6 separate regions of the Homo sapiens genome follow, and regions 2, 3, 4, 5 and 6 are each linked to region 1. The links are contacts of gene promoters, found by promoter capture Hi-C in blood cells and fetal thymus (Javierre and others, 2016). All regions are on one chromosome and are shown on one strand. The core of a region is centred on a gene start or on the middle of the fragment in contact, and the rest is flanking DNA. Distances in the headings are between cores, read along the strand shown.

What was found. The method cuts DNA at HindIII sites, captures the fragments that hold promoters and counts their contacts. A CHiCAGO score of 5 or more calls a contact.
Region 2: a fragment that was not itself captured here is called in contact with the fragment with the promoter of BRD7 in region 1 in 14 of 17 cell types (neutrophils, naive CD8 T cells, total CD8 T cells and 11 more); the score reaches 31.9 in neutrophils.
Region 3: a contact is called between a fragment that was not itself captured here and the fragment with the promoter of BRD7 in region 1, in 16 of 17 cell types (total CD4 T cells, naive CD8 T cells, naive CD4 T cells and 13 more). The highest score is 35.4, in total CD4 T cells.
Region 4: a fragment that was not itself captured here is called in contact with the fragment with the promoter of BRD7 in region 1 in 17 of 17 cell types (total CD4 T cells, naive CD8 T cells, total CD8 T cells and 14 more); the score reaches 36.5 in total CD4 T cells.
Region 5: a fragment that was not itself captured here is called in contact with the fragment with the promoter of BRD7 in region 1 in 16 of 17 cell types (naive CD8 T cells, total CD8 T cells, neutrophils and 13 more); the score reaches 32.7 in naive CD8 T cells.
Region 6: a contact is called between a fragment that was not itself captured here and the fragment with the promoter of BRD7 in region 1, in 14 of 17 cell types (naive CD8 T cells, total CD8 T cells, total CD4 T cells and 11 more). The highest score is 23.7, in naive CD8 T cells.

Annotation. Positions count from the first base shown.
Region 1 is chr16:50,366,676-50,370,775 of GRCh38, reverse strand. It overlaps BRD7 (bromodomain containing 7), which reads left to right and starts at 1,788. Exons shown (of 17, transcript NM_013263.5): 1 at 1,788-2,050; 2 at 2,478-2,686. The coding sequence starts at 2,002. RefSeq lists silencers at 1,610-1,859, 1,890-2,399. The HindIII fragment of the contact is 8,339 bases long and covers 880-4,100 here.
Region 2 is chr16:50,049,845-50,053,944 of GRCh38, reverse strand. The region is part of intron 2 of HEATR3-AS1 (HEATR3 antisense RNA 1); the gene reads left to right. Among named protein-coding and RNA genes, the nearest start is that of HEATR3, 14 kb to the left of the region's middle. The HindIII fragment of the contact is 9,594 bases long and covers 1-4,100 here.
Region 3 is chr16:50,686,539-50,690,638 of GRCh38, reverse strand. No RefSeq gene overlaps it. Among named protein-coding and RNA genes, the nearest start is that of NOD2, 5.0 kb to the left of the region's middle. The HindIII fragment of the contact is 3,251 bases long and covers 776-4,026 here.
Region 4 is chr16:50,668,730-50,672,829 of GRCh38, reverse strand. LOC101927272 (a long non-coding RNA gene) reads right to left here and starts at 3,975. Exons shown (of 3, transcript NR_110908.1): 1 at 3,670-3,975; 2 at 1,837-2,147; 3 at 1,191-1,682. SNX20 (sorting nexin 20) reads left to right here. Exons shown (of 4, transcript NM_182854.4): 4 at 1-1,201. The HindIII fragment of the contact is 1,314 bases long and covers 2,194-3,507 here.
Region 5 is chr16:50,082,334-50,086,433 of GRCh38, reverse strand. It overlaps HEATR3 (HEAT repeat containing 3), which reads right to left. Exons shown (of 15, transcript NM_182922.4): 8 at 2,407-2,497; 9 at 2,143-2,300; 10 at 1,783-1,865; 11 at 83-219. Among named protein-coding and RNA genes, the nearest start is that of HEATR3-AS1, 18 kb to the right of the region's middle. The HindIII fragment of the contact is 2,772 bases long and covers 300-3,071 here.
Region 6 is chr16:50,102,515-50,106,614 of GRCh38, reverse strand. HEATR3 (HEAT repeat containing 3) reads right to left here. Exons shown (of 15, transcript NM_182922.4): 15 at 1-1,676. The coding sequence ends at 1,554. Among named protein-coding and RNA genes, the nearest start is that of HEATR3-AS1, 38 kb to the right of the region's middle. The HindIII fragment of the contact is 3,825 bases long and covers 470-4,100 here.

The DNA.
Region 1 (4,100 bases), core at 539-3,038:
CCTATGTAGAATCACTCTTGAGAGGGTAGGGAAATTACTAACTTGATAGTATGGATGAGTTCACCAGACCTTTTTCCTCTGAGGGGCATTTGGACAGTAGTAGTCACTGTGCTAGGCACTGTAAGTACCAAGGAGGTACCCAGGGTAATGAGGAGCAGACAGGTAAACCCACAGGTTGAGCCTGGAGCAAGGCAATGCCACAATAGAGGCCAGACCCACAGTGGGAGTTGGCATAGTGGTTCTTAAAGCAAAATAAGTTACAGACAGTGGATGAAAAGCTGAAACCAAGCTTTGCCCTATGCTTAGGGGGCCTAGGGGGCCTAGCTGGCTTGATTTCAGAGCAGCAGAAGGTCTCTTCCCCAACACAACCCCTCTTCCCACACCCTGATCTCTGCCTCACGGACACCAGAGAGGCTTGTTACAGGGAAATAATAGACACACACTTTTAGCTTTCATGAAAAAGCAACTCTCTTCATTAGAAGAACCTCATCTTCCCTGGCTAACCATAGAAGTCTGGCAGGAGCTGCCAATCACAGACTCCACTTCTCTTGGCCAAGGGGGTGAGGGGGTAGATTTGGCATCCAGGCCGAATCAATCTCCCATCCCCTGTCCCATAAAACATGTGACACAAGCCAAGCCAATCAGAGTCCTTCCCTGGGACTGTTTTCCAGGTGAAGCTGACAGGAAGAGATCTTTTTCCCAGTTGGTCAGGACACTATAAAGAAGAGGCCTCAGAAGCAGATGGTGGCCATGTTTCCAGCCATATAGGAAAGAAGGGGGGAGATGGAGACCGATATACAGAGAGACAAGAGAGAGAGCGAGCTGGCATGCCAGTCAACAGCATTACATCCTTGGTTCCTGTCTTCCCTCTGGCAAGCTTTATTCTTGCCCTTTCTAGACATGTAAACCAATAAATCCCTTTTTATTTACTTGAAATAATTCAAATTGGTTTCTATTAGTTGCCAACAATAGGGTCCTAAAATATAAGCCTATAATTTCACCACTGAAGTTCAAGGTAAAGCTACAAATCTTCCTGGGAGAGGTGATTCATGGGTCTAAATTGTTACTAAAGTATAAATGACTGATAACAGATCCTTTCTTAAGAGGAGACTATAATTACGAGCTTATCTGAAAACAGACAAAGCACCATACAGCTAGAAGTAAAGACAGTCAAAACGTCTGGTAACCTTCACCTATCAGCACATAAGTTTTTTTTAAGATTAGAATCTTCAGTCACCAATGTGCTGAGTTTGCTGGGTCTGGCACCCAGTATGGGGTTCAGTCAATATCGTAAAAGGGAAGAAACAGAAGCAAGGGAAAGTGGAAAGAAAGGAAGAGTGGGGGAAGGAGGAAGGGGAAAAAAAGAAAAGAAAAAAAGAGGGAAGGAGACGGGAAGAGGAGAAGGAAGGGTGATGAGGGAGGAAGAAAAGAGAGAAGGAAGGCTTGAAGGGAGGCAGTAAGGAGGGAAGAAAGAAAGGAAGGAAGGAGGAAGGAAGGGAAGAAGGGAAAGAGAAAGAAAGAGAGGGAGGGAGTAAAAAGAAGGGAGGGAAGTGGAGACGGAGGGAGAGACACACAGAGACAGAGACAAGACAGACAAATTGAGGGGAAAGGGAGGAAGGAAGAAAGACGAGAGTCTGAGCGGTGGATCCCGCCCCGGCCCCGCCCTCGGCCCCGCCCCCGGCCCGCGAGCTGCAGCACCACCTCCGGTCGCCAGGGGCCGCCACCCGCAGCCGCCGGCACCCTGTGCGCGCGGCGGGCCTTCTTTCCCGCCTCTGCGCCGGCCGCGCGCCCCCCCCGCCGCCGCTCTCGGGCTCCGGCCGGGTCTCGCGCGCCGTCTTCTCGAGAGGGGCATCGCGCCGCCCGGCGCGCGCCGCCCCCCTGCCTCGCGGCGCGGGGTCTCGCGGGCCCCGCTCCCGCCCTCCGCTCGCCTGGCCCGGACCGGAAGCGGCGCCGCACGGCCTGGGCCTGGCGCGGGGGGCGGGCACCGGGGCCCGGTCGGACATGGGCAAGAAGCACAAGAAGCACAAGTCGGACAAACACCTCTACGAGGGTGAGGAGGGGGCCGGGGTGCGGGCGGCGGGCCCTCGGCGGCTCTGCCGGGCTTCCGCTCTTTCCCAGTGGCTCCGGGGCGGCCCGGGGCCCTTCCTTCCCACGGCAGGCCCAGGCCGGCGAAGGGGGCGCGTCCTGCCGGAGGCCGCGCTGCCCCCCGTGCGGCCGCGGCATTCGAACCCGGGTCCCCCTGGTCCGGTGGGTCTCTGGTGGGGAGACGTGAGGCGGGCCCGGGAGGCCTGGGAGCGTTCGGGGCGGGCGGCGCCGCCGCACCCCCGGGCCGGGGTCCGTCATTCAACAGGTGCTTCGCGGAGCGCCCAAAGCCGCCTCGGGCTTGCTGCGCCTTGGCGCTCTGCATCCTTAGCACTCCCTGGAGAGCCCCGATTTTAATCGACGCGCTTTCCTTTCTTTTCTTTTCTTTTTTTAAGAGTATGTAGAGAAGCCCTTGAAGCTGGTCCTCAAAGTAGGAGGGAACGAAGTCACCGAACTCTCCACGGGCAGCTCGGGGCACGACTCCAGCCTCTTCGAAGACAAAAACGATCATGACAAACACAAGGACAGAAAGCGGAAAAAGAGAAAGAAAGGAGAGAAGCAGATTCCAGGGGAAGAAAAGGGGAGAAAACGGAGAAGAGTTAAGGTACAAGTGGTTACATTGCTTTGGCTTTGCGGACGGCACTGCCTCTTCCAGGTGCCAACCTCATTTTATTTTCTTTGTATCTGGGGAAAACAAACGCCTCTAAGATCTGGCTCGTTTGAGGAGGAGCAGGACAGAATAGAGACATGAATCATCTATGAGTTTCAGCAAGTCGTTTTTGGATTATACTCTTAGGCAATTGTACTCGCACATCAGGTGAGGAAGCAGCTAAGTCCAAATTTTGAGGAGCTGCTTCAAAGAATGGTTTTTCCATCTAGGCAGGGTAAAAAGTCATGCTCAAGAAAGCCTCAGTGTTCAAGGATTGTCAAAAATAGTCATTTCAGAAGCGAGTGGGATCTACTGGGGTTTAAAGTTTGTTCTGAAATAAATATTATAATGCCAAATCTGTAATGAGCAACTTTAAATCTTTTAAAACAGTGTTGTAGTGTGTTGAGAAAATTTGGTCAGAAACCTGTAATGGAGATTGATATTCTTAACCATTTGCATTTAACAGAAAAGAATGAGTAGCTACCATCTTGGTTTGAAAGCTGGGCAAAATAATAATTAATGGCTGGGCCCAGTAGCCCACACTTGTAATCCCAACACTTTGGAATGCCGAGGTGGGAGGATTGCTTGAGGCTGGAAGTTCGAGACCAGCCTGGGCAACATAGCAAGGCCCTGCCTCTGCAAAATAAACTACAAAAATTTCCAGAGCCTGGTGGTGTGCACCTGTGTCCCAGCTATTCAGGAGGCTGAGGTGGGAGGATCCCTTGAGCCCAGGAGTTTGAGGTACAGTGAGGTATGATCATACCACTGCACTCCAGCCTGGGCAATAATACGAGACTCTGTCTCTAATAATAATAACATTGTTATTACTGTTATTAACTTTCCAAATTTAACCTGCCACTGAACGACTTATTACATCAATTATTGTGAAGGTAAATTTTCATAGGTTAGTTATGTAATTTTTCTTATGTTTATATATACAAGAGGAGCTTTCTCTTCCATGTGATTGAACACATTGCTAAGTCACCAAGTCTTAGAGATCTTATTTTGGGGATTTCTTAAGTCTATTCCTTCCCTTTTGTCCCAGTTTTTATTACCTTTGGCTAGGTAGGAGTAATGTTTTGTTTTCTTCCTTAAATTATAAAACCCATATATGCATTTGATTTTTTAAAAGTAGTTCATGTGGTGCAAAAGTACACAAAATGGAAAAAGTTTTCCTCACCCCAATCCTTCACATAGACTCCCTCTTCAGAGGTAACCAGTTGTTTTTTTTAATTAATAGTAGTAAAGTAATTCGTGAAGATGATTTTTAAAAGTCAAGAGTACTACACAGCTTTTTGACACAAAGCAGGCTGCTGCTCCACTCTGGACACTTTTTAGGTATTTTTCCTTGCCTACTTATTTCTATTTC
Region 2 (4,100 bases), core at 1,111-3,610, 320 kb after region 1:
ACTGCAACCTCCACCTCCCAGGTTCAAGCACTTCTCCTGCTTCAGCCTCCCATGTAGCTAGGATCACAGGTGTGCACCACCACACCTGGCTAAGTTTTTGATTTTTTTGTAGAGACAGGGTTTCACAATATTGACCAGGCTGGTCTCGAACTCCTGACCTTGTGATCCACCCGCCTCGGCCTCCCAAAGTGCTGGGATTACAGGCATAAGCCACTGCACCCAGCCAACATTTGTAGTATTCTTATAAAATTTTCCACTTTAAAAAAATTATGATTTTCTGCCAGGCACGGTGGCTCACGCCTGTAATCGTAGCACTTTGGGAGGCTGAGGCAGGTGGGTCACTTGAGGTCAGGAGTTCCAGACCAGCCTGGCCAGCATGGTGAAACCCCATCTCTACTAAAAATATATTTTAAAAAATTAGCCGGGTGTGGTGGTGGGCACCTGTAATTCCAGCTACTTGGGAGGCTGAGGCAGGAGGATCGCTTGAACCTGGGAGGCAGAGGTTGCAGTGAGCCAAGATCGAGCCATTTCACTCCAGCCTGGGCAACAAGAATGAAACCCTGTCTCAAAAAATTAATTAATTAATTAAATTAAAAATTATCATTTTCCAGGTAAACTCACTTAATATTGCAGTTTCTTTTCTTTGCTCCCAGGTGGGCAGCATTTCCTTTCTATTTGTAGTTTCTTGTTTCCTTTGCTCAGCAATCAATGACCCCACTCTCCGTCTAGGAACTTCTAGTCTCTGCTGAAGAGCTAGTACATTCCCATGTAGTTTTTAAAAAAATTGATACATAATAATTGTGCATATTTATGGGGTACATGTGATACTTTGATACATATAATCCGTACAATGTAATAATCAAATCGGGGTAATTAGCATATCCATCACCTCAAACATTCATCATTTCTTTGTGTTGGGAATATTTGAAATCTCTTCTAGCAATTTTTATTTGTTTTGTTTTAAATTTTGATTTTTTATATTGACAAGAAATAATTGTGTATATTCATGGGGTACATAGGGATGTTTCAATACATATAATGTATAGTGCTCAGAGCATGGTAATTAGCATGTTCATCATCTCAAACATTTATTATTTCTTTGCATTGGGAACGTTCAATATTCTCCTTGTAGCTATTTTGAAATGTACGATAAATTGTTGTTAATTACAGTTACCCTATTGTGATACTGGACACTAGAGCTTGTTTTTTCTATCTGACTATGTGTTTGCACCCATTAACCAAGCTCCCTCCCCTACTTCCTTCCAGCCCCTGGTAACCATCATTCTACTCTCCACTTCCATGAGAGCAACTTTTTTAGCTTCCACATGTGAATGAGAACATGCAATATTTGTCTTTGTGTGCCTGGCTTATCTCACTTAAAATAATGACCTCCAATTCCATCCACGTTGCTGTGATAGGATTTTATTCTTTTTTGTGGCTGAATAGTATTCCACTGTGTATATATACCACATTTTCTTTATCCACTCATTGGTTGATGAATACTTAGGTTGATTCTGTAACTTGGCTATTGTGAATAGTCCTGCAATAAACATGGCTGGAGCAGGTATACCTTTGATATGCTGATTTCCTTTCCTTTGGATAAATACACAGTGGTGAAATTGCTGGATTATACAGTAGTTCTATTTTCAGTTTTTTGAGGAAACTTCATGCTGTTTTCCATAATGGCTGTACTAATTTACATTCCCACCAAAATTATATAAGAGTTCCCTTTTCTCCACATCCTTGCCAGCATTTGTTATTTATTTATTTATTTATTGTCTTTTTGATAATAGCCATTCTAACTGGAGTGAGATGATAGTTCATTGTGGTTTTGATTTACATTTATCTGATGATTAGTGCTGTTAAGCATATTTGCATATACCTGTTGGCTATTTGTGTGTCTTCTTTTGAGATGTGCCTATTCATGTGGTCTTTACCCCTCCTTTTTTTTTTTTTTGAGATGGAGTCTCACTCTGTCACCCAGGCTGGAGTGCAGTGGCATGATCTTGGCTCACTGCAACCTCCACCTCCCAGGTTCAAGCAATTCTCCTGCCTCAGCCTCCAGAGTAGCTGGGACTAAAGGCACATGCCACCACGCCTGGCTAATTTTTTTGTGTTTTTAATAGAGATGGGGTTTCACCATGTTGGCCATGCTGGACTCAATCTCCTGACCTTGTGATCTGCCTGCCTCAGTCTCCCAAAGTGCTGGGATTACAGGTGTGAGCCACCACACCCAGCCTTTGCCACTTTTTAATGGGATTATTTGTTTTTTTGCTGTTGAGTTGCTTGAGTTCCTTGTATATTCTGGATATTAGTCCCTTGTATATTCTGGATATTAGTCCCTTGTTGGATGAATGGTTTGGAAATAATTTCTCATATTTTACAGGTTGTCTCTTTACTCTGTTGATTGTTTCCTTTTCTTCTTAGTTTAATATAGCCTCTTTTGTCTGTTTTTGTTTTTGTTGCCTGTGCTTTTGAAGTCTTAGGCATAAAATCTTTGCCTAGACCAATGTCCTGAAGCATTTTCCCTATGCTTTTTCTAGTAGTTTTATAGTTTCAGGTCTTGCATTTAAGCCTTTAATTCATTTTTAGTTGATTTTTTGTACGTGGTGAGAGAGGGGTCTAGATTCATTCTTCTGCATAGGGATATCTAGATTTCCCAGCACCGTTTATTGAGAGTGTCCTTTCACCAGTGTATGTTGTTGTCACCTTTGTCAAAAATCAGTTGGCTGTTTGTGGCGGAATTCACACAGAAAAAAAAATCAGTTGGCTGTAAATATGTGGATTTACTTCTGAATTCTCTATTCTGTTCAGTTGGTCTGTGTGTCTGTTTTTATGCCAATATCATGCTGTTTCGTTTATTATGGCCTCGTAGAATCTTTTGAAGTCAGATAGATGCCTCCAAACTTTGTTCTTTGTATATTGCTTTAGCTGCTTGCATTCCCATCTGGTTTTAATTATGTCAAGGCAAGCCCTGATTCCTCTAAAGGTTACTCTATTTTTGTACTTGTTTTATTTATTTTTAACTGATCAATGGGCTAATATCACTTCAGTTTTTAAATAAGTAACTATTAATATTAGTGATTATGTATTTTTGTTTTTGCATTATCTTCCATGCTACATCAAAATCAGGATTTATCAAATTTTCAGGTAACAATGGAGGTAAGAAATTTTTATTTATTTTTTCTTTTTAATTAATATTTTTGAGACAGGGTCTGACTCTGTTGCCCAGGCTGGAGTGCAAGGCATGATCTCAGCTCACTGCAGCTTCCACCTGCCAGACAGAAACCATTCTTCCACCTCAGCCCTCCTGAGTAGCTGGAACTACAGGTGGGCACCACCATGCCTGGCTAATTTTTGCATTTTTGGTAGAGACAGGGTGTTGCCATGTTGCTCAGGCTGGTCTCGAACTCCTGGGCTCAAGTGATCCTCCCAACTTGGCCTCCCAAAGTGCTGAGATTACAGGCGTGAACCACCACACCCAGCCTGGAAGTAAGGATTTTTTAAAAGTAACTGATGGAGTGACCGGGCGTGGTGGCTCATACCTGTAATCCCAGCACTTTGAGAGGCCAAGGTGGGTGGATCATTTGAGGTCAGGAGTTTGAGACTAGCCTGACCAACAAGGTGAAACTCCATCTCTACTAAAAATACAAAAAAATTAGCCGGGTGTGGTATTGAGCGCCTGTAATCCTAGCTACTTAGGAGGCTGAGGCAGGCGAGTCACTTGATGCCAGGAGGCAGAGGTTGCAGTGAGCTGAGATCCTGCCACTGCACTCCAGCCTGGGCAACAGAGTAAGACTCTATCTAAAAAAAAAAAAAAAAAAAAAAAAAGTAACAGATGGCTTGTTTTACGTATCTCAAATAAATAAATAAAATGTTTACAATTGATTACTTAGGGAATCTGTGTCAAATGTGATAAAACATGCAAAGTTAGGTAAACTCTAAAGAATCATGTCTGTTGATGCCACATTATACTTGCAAAAGAAATAGATAACCTTGGCTGGGCGCGGTGGCTCACATCTGTAATCCTAGCACTTTGGGAGGCCAAGGCAGTCCGATCACAGGGTCAGAAGTTGGAGACCAGTCTGGCCAACATAGTG
Region 3 (4,100 bases), core at 1,152-3,651, 320 kb before region 1:
ACTAAAAATAATGCTGTGGTTCTAATAACCAATGAAAATAAATGAATCACTGTACCCCCACGAGAACTGCAGCCTCACAGACATAATGTTGGGTGAAACAGGCTGAGTGCAAGAGCGTGCATACGGAATGGTATCCTTTCTATAAAGTTCAAAAGCAGGCAAAACTGCATTACAGGTAGGAGCCAAGATAGAGGCTACCACTGGGGAGAAAGTTGGAGGTAGTGACTAGGGGAGGAGTGAAGGGGACTTCTGGGGTGCCAGTAATCTCCTATTTTTACTCTGAATAGTGGTTGCATTGATGCAAATACATTGTGAAACTGACCAAGTTAAACACATGATATTTATATTTTCCTTTATGCTTGTCATATTTCAATAGATATTTATTTTTTAAAGATGCTATAAGTATGTTTATCAGATAGAAAGCTGCCTAGAATATATAAGGCTAAATTTATAAAGTAGACTCTTTTTTGAACGAGGATGCCAAGATGATTCAGGGGGAAAAAAGTGGTCTTTTTAACAAATGGTGCTGGGAAAACTAGATGTCCACATGCAAAAGAACTGAATTTGGATTCCTCCTTCAGGCCTTATACAAAAATTAACCCAAAATGGATCAAAGTCCCAAATGCAAGATTTAAAATATAAAAATCTTAGAAGAAAACATAGGTGAAAATCTTTGTGACCTTGGATGAAGCAATGATTTCTCAGATTTGACACCTAAAGCACAAACAACCAAAGAAAAAAATAGATAAGTTGGACTTTATCAAAATTCCAAGCTTTTGTGCTTTGAAAGACATGATCAAGAAAGTAAAAAGACAACCAACGGAATGGGAGAAAATAGTCACGACTCATATCCAGAATATATAAAGGACTCCTGAAACTCAATAACAAACAACTTTTTAAATGAGCAAAGGATTTGAAAATGTTCAGAGAACGTATGTAAGTAGCCAACAAGCACATGAAAAGACGCTCAACATCATTAATTGTTAGGGAAATGTGAATCAAAGCCACCATAAGATACCACTTTACACTCACAAAGGTGCCCTTAGTCCAAAGGACAGAAAACAAGTGCTGGAAATAATGTGGAGAAACTGGAAGCCTCATACATTGGTGGTTAGAGCGTAAAGTGGTGAAGCCACTGTGGAAAATAGTTTGTGGGTTCTTCATAAAGTTAAACATGGTGTTACCATATGATCCAGCAATTCTACTCCTAGGTATACTCAACAGAATTGAAGCATATATGCACACAAATGCTTGTACACAAATGTTCATAGCAACATTATTCATAAGAGGAAAAAGTGGAAGCAAACTAAATGTCCCTCAGCTGATGAATGGATAAAGAAAATGTGATCTATCTGTGCAATGGAATATTATTCAGCTGTGAAAAAAACAAAGTACTGATAAATGCTACAACATAAATGAACCTTGAAAACATTATGCTAAGTGAAAGAAGCCAGTCACAAAATGACATCTATTGTGTAAGTCCGTTTACATGCAATGTCCGGAATAGGCAAACCCATGAAGACAGAAAGTAGATTTGTTGGTTGCCAGGAACTGAGAGGAGGGAGGAATGAGGAGTGACTGCTAGTGGGCATGAGGTTTGGTTTTTGTTTTGTTTTGTTTTGTTTTGTTTTTGCATGATGAAAATATTCCGGAATTAGATCATGGTGATGGTTACACAACCTTGTGAATGGACTAAAAACCAGTGAATTACACACCTTAAAAGGGTGAGTTTTATGGTATGTGAATTATATCTCAATGAAAAACAGTTGGGCTGCCAAATGCTTTGTGTAGAAAGAATATAAGGCTAAATTTAAAGAGTAGGTTGTTTTTTAACAAGGATGCCAAGATAATTCAAAGGGGAAAAATGATCTCTTTAACACATGGTGCTGGGAAAACTAGATATCCACGTGCAAAAGAAATGAATTTGGACTACTACCTCATACTTTATACAAAAATTCTGTAATAGATATGTGTGAATATATGCATTGAAACATCTAAAAGACAAGTTAGGATCGGATTTTAACTGGACTTTTAAAATTCTTCTGTGTTAACCTGTATTTCCTAATAAGCATAATTTACTTGTTTAATAATAATTTTTTAAAACTTTCCAATGAGTTAAGGGATATTGATTAAAAACTCCCTGTGTGCAGGGCCCTCTGCCGAGACAGGCAATTGGGATGCCCTGGAGACATTTCTGTCCTTGAGTGCTCTGACATGGGCACCGTGCAGGAAGTGCTCAGAAGAGGCGGAGGGAAAATGCTTCCAGAATCCCCCGGGCCTCAGAGGAGAGAAATCCTTGGATTGTGTCATTCAAAATTCTTCCAGGCCGGGAAGCTGCCTGTGCCTGAGCACTTCCCCCAGGAGCGAGGACTGCCCCCATCAGCAGGCCTGGATAGTAGGAGCTCAGCCCAGGACCGACGGCGGCTGCTGCTGCTGACAGTGGTGGTAACCCGGCCTCATAGTGGGCTGCAGTCTCCACGCTGGTGGTCCTCTGCTCCAAGCAGCCCGCCCACTCACCAAAGTCCAAACACTTCCACAAGCTGGCCCAAATGGATGAAGACAGGAATGGCTTTCCCTCCCCACATCTCTGCACCCCTAGCTTCACCAACTTCCCGCAGCTCTCAGTACTCCCACCTGTGAGCTTCTGCTCACTCTGTGCCCCAGGCAGAGGCAACAGGTGGCAACTGCAAGGACTCTGGCCCCAGCGAACTTGGATTTGAATTCCAGCCCTGCTCCTTAGCGGCTGTATGCTCTTGGCCAGTCATTTCATTTCTCTTGACCTCAGTCTCCCTCACAGTTAAGTGAGGATGACAGTCCACTTAGATCTTGTCATGAGGGATGCATACACTAGGACTCGGTGCCTGGTAAACAGTGAGCACACCACAGTGTGAATATGTTATTGAACACTTGCCATATGCCACGCCGTGTACTCTCACAACACCTCTATGGAATAGGTTCCATTCCTCATCCCCATCTTTGACAGGAAGAAACGGAGGTTTCAAGAGGATCATGAATTTCCTAAGATGACCCAGCTATGGAATGGTGGGACTATGAGTCAAGTCCACGTCCTTCTCTACCTGCTTTTATCTGGACCTTCCATGCCCACCTCCTGCAAGGAAGCTCTCCAGACCCCACAGTCCCTGTGGGCTCTCCCAGTCCTCTCAGCTGCAAAGATCAGCCTGCCTGTTCTCCTGTTGGCCATCAGCCGAGACGGTCCAACACTGTTGGCCCAAGTTCCATGTGTCCGTCCTGTGTATCACCAGTCTCTGAGGGTTCAAGGTATCCCTTCCTTGTCCCTTCCTTGTTGCTGGACCTCAGCCTCTGGCCCAGTGCTTGGCCAAGTCTGTTTTCAGAGTGACTTTTTTTTTTTTTCCGAGGTGGAGTCTCACTCTGTTGCCTAGGCTGGAGTGCAGTGGCGCCATCTCAGCTCACTGCAACCTCCGCCCCCTGGGCTCAAGCGATTGTCCTGTCTCAGCCTCCCAGGTAGCTGGGACTACAGGCATATGCCATCATGCCCAGCTAATTTTTGTATTTTTAGTAGAGACAAGGTTTCAGCATGTTAGCCAGGTTGGTCTCAAACCCTTGACCTCAGGTGATCTGCCTGCCTTAGCCTCCCAGGCTAGGATTACAGGCGTAAGCCACTGCGCCCTATCCATGGGTGACTTACTGACAGAGGGACAATGCTTGAAAGAAGGACACATTGGAGCAGGCAGCTCTCCACAGAGCAGCCTCCAGCCTGGGAACCTGACGTGCCTGCATCTCTTGGGCAGCCTCTGAGGTTGCCCCATTCCTACCTCAAGACCAGACCCAGCATTCTGTCACTTCCCCACCTCAGGTCCTAACCCAATTCCAAGCTCATCAGTACATTGGGCAGGAAGATCAGACACCTGAAAACACAATCCAGCTCCCCTGCCTAAGCCTCCTCCTGAGACCCCGTGCTGTGCCTCCTCTCTCTCCTTCCCTTCCGCCTTATTGTTTCTAGAATCACCCCTCTGTTCTCAAACCCTGCCATTCTAGCCCCAAGCTTACAAACCCCACTTCAGCAAAATAAAATGTTCCATTGGCTGAGGGTGTTGTCTTTGAAAATCAGTTTCTCACTC
Region 4 (4,100 bases), core at 1,601-4,100, 300 kb before region 1:
CAACTGCCAAAACCGTCCAGAGCAGTGTCCACCCCACCAGTGTCTTTGTGGGAAGCTGGAGAAGAAGTTTACCTCACACATTCTAGACAAAACTTAGTCCATTTCCTTGAAGACAGTTCTCTCCAGCTGCTCCAAGGCTTTTCTCTCTGTTCCTTCCACCTTGGAATTGCTTTAAAATATTTCCATCCATTATCCTAATACTATCTTAGTATTCTAGCCCTTCCCCCTTACCATGTAGACCTGACAAAGCAAAACAAAAGCTCACCTATTGCCCTCAAGAACAGCCTCTACACACACACACACACACACACACACACACACACACACACACACGGTGGGAGTTGTATGCCATCCTTTTGAAGGGTGGGAGGACCCTGGACCAGAAAGCAATAATGGCATAAGATTCTGTGATACCAGGCATTTTTGGCAAGGGAAGTTGCCAACAATTTTTCTGGCTGGGATGGCATAGCACATTGTCTAGGGGTGGATTTTCATTCATAAGGCAGCTGTTCCCTGAATGGCTTCCCTGGGTTATGTAGAAACAGCCTGGGGAGGAGGTGATACAACATACTTAATGGGGCCTCTGGGCAGAAAACAGACTGAATCCTCAACACTGCCCCTTTTGAGGGTCTGTGATCCTGGAACTTCTCTGATGGACTGGGATGCCCTTAACTGAGGTCTGCTGTCTGGAAAGGACACCACAGGCCCAGAATGAAGGGGCATCTGGACCAATGACCTAGATTCAACACAGGGCTTGGAGCTGGTGGTACAGGCTGGTTTTGGCCCAATGTGTGTTGGAGGCTGGAAGCCCCTGAAGACCTAAACTGCCTGGATGAGCTTATTAGGGTGAATTAATGAGTCTGTAATTTGGGAACCTTAATGTGAGACACCACTTAAGGAGAGGAACTTGGCCCAGCAAGTGATCACTCTAGAAGTGGACAGCTATGCACTAGACTGCACCAGAATCTGTTCAACAGCGACACCTTGTGGTAAAAACTGTAGACGCCCCATCAGGCTGGATGGGAAACTAGAAACAGACTGTCTCATCTTTGGACAGATATCCCTCAAATCTCCCAATCTACTCCAGGGAAAAGACACTTCAAGTGAGAGATATTGGACTTCTTGAAAATCTAGGCCTATGGAAAATTAAAGTGTTAAATGGAAAAATTAAAGAGCTATGAGTCTATTTGTAATGATGAAACAGATGATATTGATTTTGTCAGTTATTTCTTCAAATCTAAAATGCTATCAACAATATGCAACAAATGTTTACTAACAAAGAAAAAATACCCAACATGGACAGTTTAATGGGATATTCCAGCACAAAAGCTGGAAAAGCAAAGAGTTAGACCCCCGATATGAGGGTTAACACCAAATAAGCCTGTTGTACAGGAGGGGACATTAAGGAAATTTGCACAAACTAAACTTGGCACTGGGTGGAGTACAGGGAACTTCCTCTGAGAATTTGAACTGCAAGCGGGCACTCGCCCATGTTTTAGGGCTGAATACACACAGCATGGTCCAAAATCCCTCAAGCAGAGAAATCATGTTAAAGTGGTCTCAGGTGGAGGTGTTCCAGGTGCCTCAAGACCTGGAGATCTTTAGGTCTTCCCTGGGGCTGAAGGATGTCAGCATCAAGCCAGGCCTATAAGAAGTGTAGGATCCTGTTGAGTTCAGAGGTGCTGAAATGTGAAAAAAAAAAGTCATCTCAAAATCACAGATAGATGATATGTGTGGGGTGTTGGGGGGGTGGGGCGGGGGGTGCACACAGAGAGAAAATACTTATATGGGAGTAAAGGAGCCTATAGAATCACATGGGGGGTTCCCCATAAGTACCTCTGAAGAGGGGTTGGCTTCCCACACAGTGCACAGGAAATGGATTTATTCAGGCTTCCCAAAAAGGGACTGGCCACATGGGGCAGCTTCAGGACCATCACTTTGCCTTTTCCCGATGACACTCAATGCTGCCCCTCCTCGTGCTTCTGGCAGCCTTGGCCTGAGCATCCACGGGAGTTTCTTCTGGCCATGGACACTGCATCTTCATCCACTACAAGTTGTCTGATGGACTGGGATGGCCTGCCACAGCCAGCTCCTCCTGGCATCTCCCATATGCTGCAGCAGTTAGAGCCCACTCGTTCCTTGGGTTCCTGGAACAAGTCCTTGAATTCCTTAGGCCCCCACCTCCAGCAAGCTTTCCGCAGGGCCCACTGCAGCCCCACCGGGGTACCCCACCTCCCTGTTTGCCTGGGCCCTCTCCCACGCCACCTGTATTAGTCCTTGTTTCTAGGGGACTTTAGAGTGGTGGCAGCTGGGACTGAACATTCTTCTCCTGACCCCTCAAAAGCTGGGTCCACAGGAGAGGTGAGGGGGTACCTGACCTCCATACCCAGGATGGAGCCTTGTTAGGAACACAGAATTTCAGGCCCCACCCTAGACCTGCTTAATCGGAGTCTGCACTTTAACAAGAGCATCCCCCACTGCCGCAGGTGACTCTTACCTGCATACCTCAAAGGTTGAGAAGCCCAGTGTTGAACTGACTTGAAGGCACCTCAATGAAAATCATCCATGGAACTGGGCCATCTGTGGTCCTGGGTTCATCCCCATCCTTCTCTTCTCTCCACCCGGGCCCTCTACCATACAGGTGCCTCATCCCAGGGGACTGCAGATGGGACTACCATGCCAGCCTCACAACCATACCTGCAAAACCACTCTGGGCATTTGGACTGGAGCTTAAAGGGGTTCATTCCAATGAAGCCCTCCCTGCTGCAGCAGCCACTCCCCCCCACTGGCTGTGATGGAGTCCTGGGGTCTCCACTTTGAGCTGGGATTAGGCATCCTCATGAGACCCTGTCCCCTGGGATGCCGGCAGTTCCCTGCCAAGCCCACAATTGAAAACAAGCTCTGCAAGCAGCTCCCTGTGCGGTAAAAGTCAGGGCTCCCCAGGCCTACTGTGTGACCAGGCACTGCCGGGCCATTGATAGCACCGTCACTCCAGCTCTGCTTGGGACATGTTCCTATCCCATTTTTCAGTTGAGGAAAATGTGATCATTTGTAACATTGTAACCTGAGGGGGTTAAGTGACTTGCCCAGGGTTACACAGCTAATAACTGGACCAGGAAATTAAGACCAGGCTTTAATTTGACCCAAGCCCTACTTTCCTTGCTGAACTCCACATTAAAGGATGTGGAGGAGAGGGGAAGGGATATGTTCCTGGTCCCCTCACCGAAATGGGTCCTTGATATGGTTTGGATGCATGGTGGTCACCTCCAAATCTCATGCTGAATGTGACTCCCAGTGTTGAAGGTGTGGCCTGGTGGGAGATGTTTGGCTCATGGGGGCAGGTCCCTCATGGATGGCTTGGTGCCCTCCCCGTGGTAATGAATGAGTTCTCACTCTGTTAGTTTACATGAGAGCTGGTTGTTTAGAAGAGCCTGACATGGCTCTTGCTCCCTCTCTTGCCATGTAAGTCACGAACTCCCCCTTCCCCTTCCACCATAAGTGGAAGCTTCCTGAAGCTTCACAAGAAGCAATGCTGGTGCCATGCTTCTGTACAACCTGCACAACTGTGAGCCAAATAACCCTCTTTTCTTTATAAGCTACCCAACCTCAGGTATTCCTTTATAGCAATGCAAAATGGACTGACACGCCTTTAAAGATCATTTCACTCACCTCTGTTTACAGATGGGGAAATCAAGGCCTGGAGAGATGACTTATCCAGGGTCACGTGGCGAGACAGGGACAGCACCAGAACCAGACCCGAGATGTCCACGTCAAAGTGACATGCTCTGAGAGGCAGCACACACAGAATAACCCTGCATCCAAATTCCAGGAAGCTCTTAGGGGTCATCCAGCTGGGCCTAGGGGTGCAGGGTCAGTGCTGAGGCCTGGGCAGGGCCGCTAGCCTCCCTGAGCTTTCTGGCTTCAGGCTGGGAGGCACAGTTCAGGGTGGACTGTGACCCCTTGGCCTAGAATGCCCTTAGCTCTGCTCTCTAGTGGCTGTCCCCATAGCTGGAACTCTGTTTTGGAGTGGCAAAACCAGTTCCACCTGCTGGTAGGGGTAGGTTGGCTCCCAACACATCCCCAGCAGGCCTCTCTTGGGC
Region 5 (4,100 bases), core at 436-2,935, 280 kb after region 1:
ATATACATTTACAAAATCCAAATTCCTGCCCCTTCAAAATTCTGTTCCGTCTGCGTAGTCTTTCGCAATAAAGTCTAAATACCTGGTTGAGAAAAAAGCAGCTGTGACAGATGCTGTGCAAGCGTCTGAAGGGCTGCGGCTCCTCCCAGGTGCTCCACATCCAGGAGGGACACAAGACTCTGGAGACAGAAGAGGGCTCTGCACTGAATAGTGTTCATTCTGGAAAGGAAGTGAAACAATGCCATCTGATTCTCCAGAAGTTGCCCATCAGAATTCAGTATTAACTTTTAGCCTAAGCTTCACGTTCTGACTGGAAATATCTGTAAATACAAGGTATCTATGGCAGTTAGCAAAGAATCACAAGGTGAACTGTTTTTTGTGTTTTCTAAAATTTATCATCATTTTTTAGACAGGGTCTTACTCTGTTGCCCAGGCTGGAGTGCAGTGGTGTGATCACAGCTCGCTGTAGCCTCAACCTCCTGAGCACAAGTGATCCTCCTGCCTCAGCCTCCTAAGGAGCAGGATTACATGTGCATGCAACCACACCTGGCTAAGTTTTTTATTTTTTGTAGATAGGGGTCTTGCTATGTTGCCCAGGCTGCTCTGGAACTCTTGGCCTCAAACAATCCTCCTGCCTGTACCTTCCAAAGTGCTAGAATTATAAGGTGAACTGTTAATCTGCCAAATCAAACTGCTTGAATATTCACGGCCTCTGATACACAACTCATTCATGAGTCATGAGGAATATGTTTTAGAAAAATTTCTATGTAGGGTAGCATCCTTAAAATTATAATTTTCTTCAGACAGGGTCTCATTCTGTTTCCCAGGCTGGAGTACAGTGTCACCATCATAGCTCACTACAGCCTTAGACTGCTGAGCTCAAGCAATCCTCCCACTTCAGCCTCCTAAGTAGCTAGGACTACAGCTGAGTGCCACTATGCCAGGCTAATTTTTGTATTTTTTTTTCCTTTGTAGAGATGGGGTCTTGCTATGCTGCCCAGGCTGGTTTCAAACTCCTGGCCTCAAGTGATCCTCCTACCTTGGCCTCCCAGAGTCCTGGGATTATAGGTGTGAGCCACCATGCCCAGCCTAAAATTATTTTTAATTGTGAAATGTGACATATATACAGTTAAGTACACAACATACATAGAGAGTTTAACAAACAGTCTATGAAACCAAAACCCATGCACCTGGGAAAGAAATTAACACTGCTGGACCCTGAAAGCCCCTGTATCTCTTCCATATAATATCCCACCTCCCTGACACCTACAGGTAAGCACCATACAGACTTCTATGGTAAACATTTCCTTGCCTCTTTTTTTTTTTAATAGGTTTATCACCAAGGTATGCATCCCTGAACAAAATAGTTCAATGTTGCCTGTTTCTCAACTTTGTAAAAACTGAATCACAGTGTGTGTATTCTTTTATGTCTCGCTTTTTTGGTTCAACAATGTAAGTTCCATCCGAGTTGTGAGTAGCTCTAATTCAGATCCCTTTTACTGCTGCATGTATTGTACTGCGTGATTTTGTCAAAATTTATTTACCATTCTAACTCTGATGGACAACACGTTTGTTTATGGGTTGGGGCAACTGTGACACACACTGCTATGAACACTCTCATATACATGTATTCTAGGGCATGTGGGCACATATTTTTCTGGTATATATACCCAGGAACAAAACTTCTGGGTCCTAGGGGGAGTCAGCACCTTCTATTTAATAGCCCATCATTTCATAAAATAAAATAATGACAAATGTTTTTGAAAGCAGAAGAGTTCTTACTTTCTAATCAAAGGTTTCCAAGTAGGGTTCCTAGAACATAGGTCAACTGCAATGCTGTTTGGAAAGGCAGTTTTCTCAAAAATCTAGATTTAAAAGAGGCAGTAAAGCAAAGGTTAAAGAGTAGTCATTTAACACGATTCCCTTACATAATTCCAACATATTACTCCTAAGTGAAATGGTTAGGCTTCATATAGAATGACCTTTTCGCCTATTTCCAGTACTGTTAGGCTCAGCTTTGTCTCAGATCTTACCACCATCTACAACCTGGAAGTGTGAGCTTGCTTCTTTTGTACACAAAATGAATACCTTGCTTAAGCCTTTCCCATGCTCCACGGTAAGCCTAGAATGAAAATGGATTACCTTCTTTGGGATGAGGTAGTTGGTGAGAGCCGTGTGAACTTCATGGGAGAGGCAGAGGGGAGAAAACAGCTGTCCCCCGCACTCACTGAAGGAATTCTCCATAAATGCGTCACTTTCATCACTGCTAGAAAGCTCTTCCCATTCGTCATCAGAGGGATCTGGGAAGCGGGCAAACCACGCAGAACTGGAATAGTTAAGAAAATCTCCACGGGAGTTTCCCTCTTGGCTCAGGGGGAAAATGTCTAAATGTAAATGTTAACAAACCTTCATTGCAGCACATGTTGACAATAATTTCCAGAGCAGTCTGTTGGGCTGTCAGCAATGCTATAGTCTCTCTCAGTTCCTTGTCAGTGGGCTTAAAAAAAAAAAAAAAAGTAAATGACCAACTCTCAATGGTTGGGAAAATGTTTTTGGGGAATTTCCTTAGTGAAAGCCTACTAGAAGATTTTTGCGCTTGGAATAGAGCACACGGGGAATGGGGTAGGTAAAAGAAAAGTCATGAAGTGCCAGAAGTACAAACGAGCATTATAATTCCTCTTGGTACAGTGGAGCATGCCCCCGTTAACTGGGTTTCCATCTATCTGCATGGCTATTCCCCAAGCGTCACTTAGTTAGCTGGAGAGAACAGACAAATATTCAGGAATTCTGAACAGAATTCACCCTGAAACTTATCTACTGTGTCAAGAAGTAGCTGGGCATACTAAGATTTAAACAAGAGTTCATTTCAGACACCAGGCACTTAGAAACACCAAACCTGCTTTTAGATGCTTAGCTTAGATGTCTTTCTTGGAATGGCTGCGCTAACACACACTACTAACGAGCCCTTATGTGACCTGTAGAACTTGCTATGGAGCAGACAGACTTGCTTCCTGCCTTTCTGTAAAGACTATAATAAAGCATTTCTCTAAGACTAAAGAAAGAAGGAAGCTTTTTTTTTCTCTGAAAATATATAACGCCAACTTAAACTTAACATTATCAACCAACATTTCTTAAAATGGGTAATATAAATTTATATAACCTTAATTATCAAATTGTCTATGGAAAGTGAAATAACCATACTGATATTCCAAAACAGTACATGAGCTAAAAATAATGTATATTTTACTATTTGAATATTTCCAAACTTCAGTTTTCAATTGTCTTTTTTTTTCCCCCTTAGAGACAGAGTCTCACTCTGTTGCCTAGGCTGGAGTGCAGTGGCACGTTCATAGCTCACTGCAGCCTCAAATTCCTGGACTCAAGCAATCCTCTTGCCGCAGCCTCTGAGTAGCTAGGGCTACAGGTGCATGCCACCATGCCTGGCTAATTTTTTTAATTTTTGTAGAGACAAGGTCTTAGCCAGGCATGGCGGTGCATGCCTGTAATCCCAGCTACTTGGGAGGCCAAGGCAGGAGAATCCCTTGAACCCAGGAGGCAGAGGTTGCAGTGAGCCGAGATTGTACCACTGTGCAACAGAGTGAGACTCCATCTCAAAAAAAAAGAAAAAAAGAAAAAGAAAAAGAAAAAAAATTTACCTGCTTTTTTTTTTTTTTTTGAGAGATGGGGTCTCAGTATATTGCCCAAGCTGGTCTTGAAATCCTGACCTCAAGTAATCCTCCCACCTCAGCCTCCCAAAAGTGTTGAGATTACAGGCATGAGCACCATGTCCAGCCCCAGTGGCTTCTTTGTGCAACAATTTAACTGTAACTTCTAAGCATATTCTTAAAAAAAAAAAAAGCAAATTGCTAATTCAATAGACGTAGCTCAGGGATCCCTAAATTTGAATTCTACTTATTGGTAGCAAGAACCTATATAAAAATCATTTCTATTTGCTTTGTGTGTGTGCTAATTCAACTAAATATACATTTATTAGAGGAGATTCAAAGCTAAACAAGACATGTTGCTGCTGGGCTCTCATTCACTTAAAATATACGAAAATCTGGCTTATTCTTTTTTATTCTTTTTTTTTGGAGACAGAG
Region 6 (4,100 bases), core at 1,133-3,632, 260 kb after region 1:
CCGAGACAATGATGCACAGGGAAACTCCCTCGAGCCCCAGCTGTCACCTAGTACTTCGAAGACACTGAGAGGTAATGCTGCAAAGTCGTGCTGTCATTTTTTTAATGTCTCACATATATTCCAAGCAATATGCATTAGCAAACAAATATCCACGAATAGTATCATCTCATTTTCTACTAATAACCCTTTATTTGGTATCTTAAAAAAGATTTTGTAAGACACAAAACTTTCCATTAAAAAGTTGTTTATTTAAAAATACCTTCTCCCAATTCTGATTCCATATCAAATTAAATCAAGAAGTGATGTTACAGCAATAACTCATCAAAGTCATGAGTAGGGAGGATGGCAATGACCCCATTAGCTCATTAGTATAATCTAGTAAGTGAAATAGAAATTCAACTCATTTACTTCTTCACAAAAGGCAAACATAATTGATATACTTCATATCAAAAAACTAGTTTATAAAGCTTGTCTTCATATTTCAGTTTAAGGTTCAACTGATATAAAATGCCTTAAAAGAACATCCAAGCAATGCTTTGGATTTTCTTTCTTTGCAAAATTCAAGGAAAACATGATTGGTTGAAGTTTCTTCACTGCTGGCGAATTAGTTAAGAGCTACCTGAGATTCCTTCGCACTTCCACTCTTCCACTCTTTGAGTTTCCAGTGATTAAAATATGCCAGAGACATAATTTAGAGAGCGCTAGAAATGCCACACAGATCTCATCACTTAAAAAAGAGTTTCTGGCCAGGCACGGTGGCTCATGCCTGTAATCCCAGCACTTTGGGAGGCCAGGGCAGGCGGATCACTTGAGGTCAGGAATTTGAGACCAGCCTGGCCAACACGGTGAAACCCGTCTCTACTGAAAAAAAAAAACAAACCAAAAAACCAAAAACAAAAACAAGGTGTGGTGGTGGGTGCCTGTAATTCCAGCTACTCAGGAGGCTGAGGCATGAGAATCGCTTGAACCTGGAATGGCAGAGGTTGCAGTAAGCCAAGATCGCAGCACTGTAATACAGCCTGGGCAGCAGTGAGACTCCATCTCAAAAAAGAAAAAAACAACAAAACAAAACAAACAAACAAAACACACACACAAAAAAACCAGCAACAGAGTTTCTGACAGGTTTTGAAGTTTTTTTTTTTTTTTTTTTTTGGAGACAGGGTCTCCCTCTGTCACCCAGGCTGGAGTGCAGTAGCGTGATCTCAGCTCACTGCAACCTCTGTCTCCCAGGTTCAACCGACTCTCCTCCCTCAGCCTCCCGAGTAGCTGGGATCACAGGCATGTGCCACCATGCTTATGCATGCGGTTTCACCATGTTGGCCAGGCTGGCCTCAAACTCCTGACCTCAAGTGATCCACCCGCCTCGGTCTCCCAAGGTGCTGGGATTATAGGCGTGAGCCACCATGCCTGGCCAGGTTTTGAAGTTTTTACAGAATGTACAGAATGTAATCATTAAAAAATGACTTTCAGAAACATATACATTCAAAGAAAACCTTTTAGTATTCTAAGCATTGAATACTTTGGGGGAAGAACTGGTTTCTTTTTTGGATTGTTTAAGAAGTCAGTCTTTTCTCAACAGTTTCTTGATAAGCAATAAATCTTCGCAAATTCATTTTCACATTGTCAAGAACACACAGCTGATCTGTGCTATAGTTACCTCTCCCTTCTTTACGTATCTGCAAACAAAAAACAAAAAATCATATATGACTTGGTAGATATGATTAATTCATTTAAATAAAGTATTTAATTTAGGGTGTATTTAACCATTTGCTGAAGCAGATAGCTGTAAGAATTTGGAAAAAATGTTTTTACTTCCAAGGTAAATGGAACTCGGTAAGTAAAGAATAAACTGAGAATGTGCATTATTAAAAATGATAGTTACAAAGGTGACTGAATGGCAGGTGGTAGGAGTTATATAAACTATAGAAAGGAATTATGTAAACCATGAATTGGGAAAATAACCCCTAACCTCTGAAAGGTCTGCTGTTCAGATTGATTTTCCTAGTTAGTATGCATTGCTATGGTAATAATACTTAATTGTTTTTCTTCTCTCAAAGGTATAAAGCCTTAATGAAATTCCTTTGTTAGGCTGGGTGCATACTCATGCCTGTAATCCCAGCAGTTTGGGAGGCCGAGGCAGGAGGTTTGCTTGAGTCCAGGAGTTCAAGACTAGCCTGGGCAACACAGTGAGACCCCACCTTAAAAAAAAAATTCCTTTGTTAGCCAGAGGTTAGTCTGTAGTGTTGTGGTTTTTTTGTTTTTGGAACAGGGTCTCTCTCTGTCGCCCAGGCCAGAGAGCCGTGCTGCAGTCATGGGTCACTGCAGCCTCGACCTCCCGGACGCAAGTGATCCTCCTGCCTCTGCCACCACAGTAGCTAGGACTACAAGCAGCGCACTACCATGCTGGAGTAATTTTTTTAAATTTTTAGTAGAGGTGGGGTCTCACTATGTTGCCCAGGCTGGTCTTGAACTCGTGGGCTCAAGTGATCCTACCACCTTGGCCTTCCATAGTGCTGGGATTACTGGTGTGAGCCACCATGCCCAGCGCTGGTTTTGTTTGTTTGCTTGTTTTTTGTTTTTAATAGAGATGGGTCTTGCTTCATCGCCTAGGCTGGAGTGCAGTGCTGCAATCCACTGAGCTCACTGTAGCCTCCAACTCCTGCACTCACACGATCCTCCTGCTCAGCTTCCTGAGTAGCTGGGATGACAGGCATGAGCCACCACTTAATGGCTAACTTAAAAAAATTTTTTTGTAGAGACAAGTTCTTGCTATGTTTCCCAGGCTGGTCTTGAAATCCTGGACTCGAGTGATCCTCCCACCTGGGGCTCCCAAAGTGCTGGGATTACAGGTGTGAGCCACTGCGCCTGGCCTGTGGTTTTTTATATCAATTGTATGGAATCTGAGTTTGATCTCACCTCTAGTCTAGAGCAGTGGCTCTCAGGTTTTAGTGTGCAACGGTATCATCTGGAAGGCTTGTTGAAAAATAGACTGGTGGGCCCATCCACAGAGTCTATGACTCAGTAGGTCAGGAGTTGGGGCCGAGGACCTGCATTTTGAATAAGTTATCAGGCAAGGGCTGATGCTGCTGATACAAGGAGGGCACTTTTGAGAAACACTGCTCAAGAGAAGTTCTTGATTGTACATAAATGCATTTTGCAGCTAAATATACACTGAATAGCCTTTAACACAAATTGTGGCTTCATTTAGCAAAAAAAAGAGTTTCACATAAATAACTACAGGCTAGCCTCTGGCTAGGAAGAAATCTCATTAGAGCTTTATACCTTTGATAAAAGAAAAACAAATGTTATTACCACAGCAATACATACTGAGTAGGAAAATCAATCAGAACAAAGACCTTTCAGAAGTCAGGGGTTATTTTCCCAGTTCACTGTTTAACCTTTTTTAAGCACCTGCTTCTGCAGAGTTTGATGACTCTAACTATTAATATATCTGCTTTCCTTGAAGCTGCAGGGAAATAGGGGATATTTTTTTCTTATCTTGCAAGCTCTTTATCCAGAAATTTAAAGGACTGTAACCTTTAAGAACAATATGGCTGGGCACAGTGGCTCACACCTGTAATCCCAGCACTTTGGGAGGCCAAGGTGGGCAGATCACCTGAGGTTGGGAGTTCGAGACCAGCCTGGATGACAAGGCGAATCCCCGTTTCTACTAAAAATACAAAAATTATTTGGGTGATGTGGTGGACACCTGTAATCCCAGCTACTTGGGAGGCTGAGGCACAAGAATCACTTGAACTGGGGAAGGGGAGGTCGCAGTGAGCCAAGATCGCACCACTGCACTCCAGCATGGGCGACAGAGTGAGATTCTGTCTCAAAAAAACAAAAAAAAGTAAAATTAAATAAATGCAAAATGTGTATGAAAGTGCTTTGCAAAATACAGAGTATAATACTGACATATATGAAGCATTGTCAAAATTACTAAACTTAAAAAAAGAAGAACTTGTCAGATACCATTTTAGCTTCAGTTTCAATGATTCAGTAGTCACACTGTTGAGCTATGACTCAGTCAACGAACATTTTACAAAGTACTGGGGATGCTGTGCTACATATGGGGATTCGTCATGCACATGCTTCTGAGT